Regions from separate parts of the Homo sapiens genome. Here region 1 is linked to region 2. The links are contacts of gene promoters, found by promoter capture Hi-C in blood cells and fetal thymus (Javierre and others, 2016). All regions are on one chromosome and are shown on one strand. The core of a region is centred on a gene start or on the middle of the fragment in contact, and the rest is flanking DNA. Distances in the headings are between cores, read along the strand shown. Region 1 overlaps COX15 (cytochrome c oxidase assembly factor COX15). Region 2 holds the start of R3HCC1L (R3H domain and coiled-coil containing 1 like).

Region 1 (2,700 bases), core at 192-2,691, 1.6 Mb after region 2:
TCCCTTCTAGGAGTCAGAGGTAAAGCGACTGGGATATTTCTTGTTGTTGGTACTCCCTCCCACTCTATTTTTCAATTTGTTTCACCTTTGCCAATAGAAAATGTTGGCAAAATATTCAACTCCTATATGATCCAGCAATTCTACTTCTAGATATATATCCAAAAGAACCAAAAGCGGGGTCTTGAACACAGATATTTGCACACAACTCTTACCTTGTGCGGAGGGAGTAGCAGTGACAGTGAGGTCCACAAGCTGGCACAATAAAGAACCAGGGCTGATCCCAGGTGGGCAGCAAGGCGGTACTGACTGACCCGAGGGATGTCATGGGAGTCTGATTTTTCTTCTAGTCCACTTTTCACCATATACCATCCCAACAGACCCTAGAACCCCCAAGAGATGAAGCAAACAAAACAAGGTTAAAATGATCTGTTCAACTTTCTTTTTTTTGTTGTTTTTTTGAGACAGAGTCTCACTCTGTCACCAGGCTGGAGTGCAGTGGCGGGATCTTGGCTCACTGCAATCTCCGCCTCCCAGGTTCAAGTGATTCTCCTGCCTCAGCCTCCCAAGTGGCTGGGACTACAGTTGCGCATCACCACGCCTGGCTAATTTTTGTATTTTTAGTAGAGATGGGGTTTCACCATGTTGGCCAGATGGTGTCAATCTCTTGACCTCGTGATCCGCCCACCTCAGCCTACCAAAGTGCTGGTATTACAGGCGTAAGCCACCACACCCGGCCTGATCTGTTCAACTTTACTGAGGAAATGAGCTATCAGGAGTACTCTCTACCCCACCCCTCCTCTTTCCATACCCTCCCCAATACGCAGTGTCCCAAGATTCATGATTTATCCACAGTTCTTCACATATCACCATTAATACTTAACTACTATTTAGATCAGAAGTGTCTGATCTTTTGGCTTCCCTGGGCCACACTGGAAGAATTGTCTTGGGCCATGCATAAAATACACTAACACTAACAGTAGCTGATGAGCTTTAAAAAAAAAAAAAGGTCCATGGATATATCTCATAAAACTAGATTGAATGTTTTGGAGAAACTTAATAAAGGTAAATGCTTAAAAACATCTACTGTCAAGTTAGGTTGGAATAAGACAATTATAAAAGTTTCAGGGGAAAATCATAAAAATCAATAAGGTTTTGCATGCAGATCGCTTTGCAAATATCTAAGTTCCCACTCCGCTTTAAGCAAAACCACAGTTTATGGGGATATAAGAAACCTGCAGTTGAATGCCAATCTGGGGACGCATAGTCAAAGAAAAGGCCTTGATTTTGTAAAAGTTGGTAATGAACGTACAGATTTAAGTTTAAAAGTTTATGTTATGTATCATATTCTATGATTCTCTGCTTTAACTGGCTTTTTCAATTAACCAAACAATTGTTAGTTCCAATCATATGAAATAAGACAGCCCTTTCACTCCCACTTGCCAGTAGAATCAGGTCAAAGAGGTGGACTCTGCCACTTCTAAATATATACTCTTCAGGAAATCTTTTTGGGCATTTCTCTCCCCTTTCAAGATTACCCTGGATATTCTAATTACCTTGATTTCATCTGCAAGAGACATTGAAAGATGAAGACGTACACAGTTGATTCACTAGCCCACTTTCTTCTCCCATACCTTATCTGACATCTTTAATTTCTGCCTCCCTAATAGTGTTTTCAGTGTTGGCTTGTTTTTCTAATTCTAAAATGTTAACTTTCATTTTGTTCTACATGCCTTTCTCTGGTTACTATTAGACTTTGATTATTGTTTCTGCTGCCTCTATTTCTTCTCTCTCATCTCCCTCCTTAATCCCTTCTTTCTTTATTTATTTTTTTTGAGCCAGAGTCTTGCTCTGTTGCCCAGGCTGGAGTGCAGTGGTGCAACCTCTCAGCTCGCTGCAACCTCCGCCTCCCCGGTTCAATCAATTCTTCTGCCTCAGCCTCCGAAATAGCTGGGACTACAGGCCCACGCCAGCATGCCCAGCTAATTTTGGTATTTTAGGTAGAGACAGGGTTTTACCATGTTGGCCAGGCTGGTCTGGAACTCCTGATCCCCCACCTTGGCTTCCGAAAGTGTTGGGATTACAGGTGTGAGCCACTGCACCCGGCCTTAATCCCTTCTAACTGACTCATTTTCTTACCACTTCTGAGTTAAATTAACCAATTAGCTTCCTCCTGATTAAATTTTGATGTTTCTTTGATGCCCTGATAATCTCCTTTAGGATCTCTAAACCTTGACCCAAATACTCCTATGTGTCTTCTCTTTTAATTTGTTGCTCAGTTTCACCCAACTTTTTTTTTTTCATCATTCTAGCAGTACTAACCTGTTAACTGTGGGAGTCTTTCCTTAAGAGGCGCTCAACTTACGTGATTTTAATTGCCATTTATATCTGAATATCTCTCAGCTACATGGGTATTCTACAATCCTTCATCCCACAAAGTGTTTCTCTCTTTTGGAATTTTCCTGTATGCTTCTGTGGCATTCTAGCACAGGGATCCCTCTTTCCTATAGCAGACAAGTTAGAAAAAGAGGAGAGACAAGAACCTAGGGAGACACCCATGATGGGAAACAAACTACATCTTGCAGCACATGAAAATATACTACTGAGTGCTTTACTGATTCCAGGCACTAAGCTAAGTACTTTAAATATGGATTATCTCATTTAATATTTACACGACTGTACATGGTGGCACTGTTATTATCC
Region 2 (2,700 bases), core at 10-2,509:
TGGTGAGCCCTTAAAAGGGACAGAAATTGTGCACTCGGGGAGCTTGGATTTTAGGACAGTAGCTTGCCGATGCTCCCAGCTGAATAAAGCCCTTCGTTCTACAACTTGGTGTCTGAGAGGTTTTGTCTGCGGCTCGTCCTGCTACAATAGAATCTCCAAGATTTGGTGACCATTTGAATATTGGAGGAAGAGGAAGTGAGAAAGGAGGAATCAGGTTAAAGAGTGAATATTAATGAGTAGGGAGGAGGGGTAGTAGTTTACTTTTCTTTTTTTGGGGGACGGAGTCTCCCTGTGTTGCCCAGGCTGGAGTGCAGTGGTGCAATTTTGGCTTACTGCAACCTCCGCCTCCCGGGTTCAAGCGATTCTCCTTCAAGCAATTCTCCTGCCTCGGCCTCCTGGGTAGCTGGGATTACAGGTGCCCACCACCACGCACAGCTAATTTCTGTACTTTTAGTAGAGACAGGGTTTCACCATGTTGGTCAGGCTGGTCTCGAACTCCTGACCGCAGGTGATCCACCTGCCTTGGCCTCCCAAAGTGCTGGGATTACAGGCATGAGCCACTGTTCCTGGCCCCAGTAGTTCACTTTTCAAGGACACTGGAGATGCCTGTGGGCATGGATGAGGAGAGGTCTTGTCTAGGAAGTTGGGAATACAAACAATGAGCTCAGGTGAGAAGGGACTGGAGTGTCCCCTCTCCCACCCCAATTTTAAGAACTCTGGAAAACACCAATATTTTAGAGGTAAGTTAGAGGAAACAAAGTAGAATGAATTCAGAGAAGGAAAACCTGGATAGTGTCATAGAAAATAAGTGATAATGCCCAATAGCGTCAAATGACTAAAGCTTGAGTTAGATGAGTCCGGAAATACCTCCAATGAGTTTGGCAACAAGGACACTTATGACAACAAGGCATTTTCCATGGGGGCGGAAGCTGCGATGAGGAGTGAACACAGATGAGCAAGTAGAGACAGTGTAGATTATCTTTTTCAAAAAACTTGGCTGTGAACGGAGGAAGTGAGATGGTATAATTGAGTGGAATGTAAGGAGATTTGCGCACGTATATAGCCGAGAGGAATGAGGAAGGGTTGAAGGGACAGGAGCAGAAATGCTCTCCGGCACTCGCCATTTTGCCAGCTTCTCCCCTACGTGACCTGAACTCAGTGGGCGCGGCCGGGCCTCGCGGAAACTACAACCCCCAGAAGGCCCCACGGCGTTGGGGGCGGAGCCGAGGCCTGACGCGCGCCCCAGCGGCGCGAGCGGAAGAGATAGAGCTTCGCGGAGACGGCGGAAGCGGAGAGCAACAGCGCGCCGGTAACAACCAGCCCCGTATCCCCTCCCTCTGTACCTCAAGCTAGGATTTTTAATCCCCACTTCTCCCTTCACAGCCCGGGACAAGACTTCCATTCCGTCGTTTGTTGCTGGTATTTTTTTTCCTCATGTGACGCGAGGGGCCGCCCCCTGCCTGGGGCGGAGGTTACTGGGAAGCTCCCGCCTTCTGACCCCTGCGGGCCCGCGGTTGAGAGGGACCCTCCCGGGGCTCTTTTGCACTCACTGGGGCTCGTGCTCGCTTTGGGCGCTCGCCCCAAATGATCCTGGCGGAAAGGACGTGCTTTTTCTGGGTTTCAACAGGTATTGAGCGGGGTCCCTGGTTACCCCCTCGGGGCTGCGGGGCCGTGGGCCCCCAGGGCTGCCGGCGGTTTCCGGGCTTCGCTTCGAGCCTCGCCTTTGAGCCTCCTCCGCTGCCCGGGAGCCCCGGGCTACGGGCTGGGAGTGAGCAATCTATAAAGGAGCATGTACTTCCTGCTTTTTCTTGGCAGGCCTGCGAAAAACCCCAAGTCCGATCTTTAAAGTTTGTGAGTGCAGCCCCCTCTCAGTTGTGTACGGGAAGGAGCACAGGATTTGGAGTCTGATATCCTGGGGGAAGTCTCAGTCCGCCACTTGGCTGGACCTGTGATCTTTTGTACAGTAGTCTGTTTAGCGCAGCCTCGGTTTCGTTGTCTGAAAAGTGGGGTTAATGTTCTTTGCCCTGCGGCCTTCCAGGGTTGTGGGCTTCAGCAGAAGTGATATTCCTGCGAAAGCTTTGAACTCTAAAGTATGTTTCGGGTATAACCTTGCCATCCCCCAGTCTCCAGTCTAGGTCAGTTGAGTTTTAAAACCAGGTTCATGTCTATACGAAGATCAAATTAGTTAATAAATAGGGGGAAAGTGTCTTTGGAAACGAATCTGAACCATACAGATGTTTTTATGCCAGGTTCCTAGTGAAGAGGTGACCTTAGGGCGTTACCACCTGTGGAGTCAATTTAAAACTTCATCTGGATTTTAAGGCCCACCAGAATTTAGACTCTTCTTCCTCAGCACACACAACTATCTCTTGCTGTTATAACCTTCCTTCAGTATCACACAGGTACAAGCATAAAGCAGTAAACGTTCCTCAGATATGGTTGTACTACAACTAATACCTGTCCCCAGCAGGTCTTGTGTCTTGTGTCACAGTTGAAATTCAGAATATAAATAGCCAAATATCCCATCTGTTTAATTTTTTTTGACATTAAGCTTTGAGACTAAGCAAGTTGCTTATTGTCTTATTTTTCCCCTTACAGAGAATGCTAATTCTGCAATCAGTTTTTTTTTTTTTTTTGGGTAGAATCAGGATTTCACTATGTCGCCCAGATTGGTCTAACTCCTGGGCTCAAATGATCCTC

Evidence for each region. The method cuts DNA at HindIII sites, captures the fragments that hold promoters and counts their contacts. A CHiCAGO score of 5 or more calls a contact.
Region 1: a fragment that was not itself captured here is called in contact with the fragment with the promoter of R3HCC1L in region 2 in 1 of 17 cell types (total CD4 T cells); the score reaches 8.0 in total CD4 T cells.

The regions. Positions count from the first base shown.
Region 1 is chr10:99,723,744-99,726,443 of GRCh38, forward strand. It overlaps COX15 (cytochrome c oxidase assembly factor COX15), which reads right to left. Exons shown (of 9, transcript NM_078470.6): 5 at 213-380. Among named protein-coding and RNA genes, the nearest start is that of COX15, 7.0 kb to the right of the region's middle. The HindIII fragment of the contact is 6,673 bases long and covers 1-2,700 here.
Region 2 is chr10:98,133,398-98,136,097 of GRCh38, forward strand. It overlaps R3HCC1L (R3H domain and coiled-coil containing 1 like), which reads left to right and starts at 1,260. Exons shown (of 10, transcript NM_001351015.2): 1 at 1,260-1,309. RefSeq lists enhancers at 1,687-2,476, 1,819-1,958. The HindIII fragment of the contact is 1,235 bases long and covers 840-2,074 here.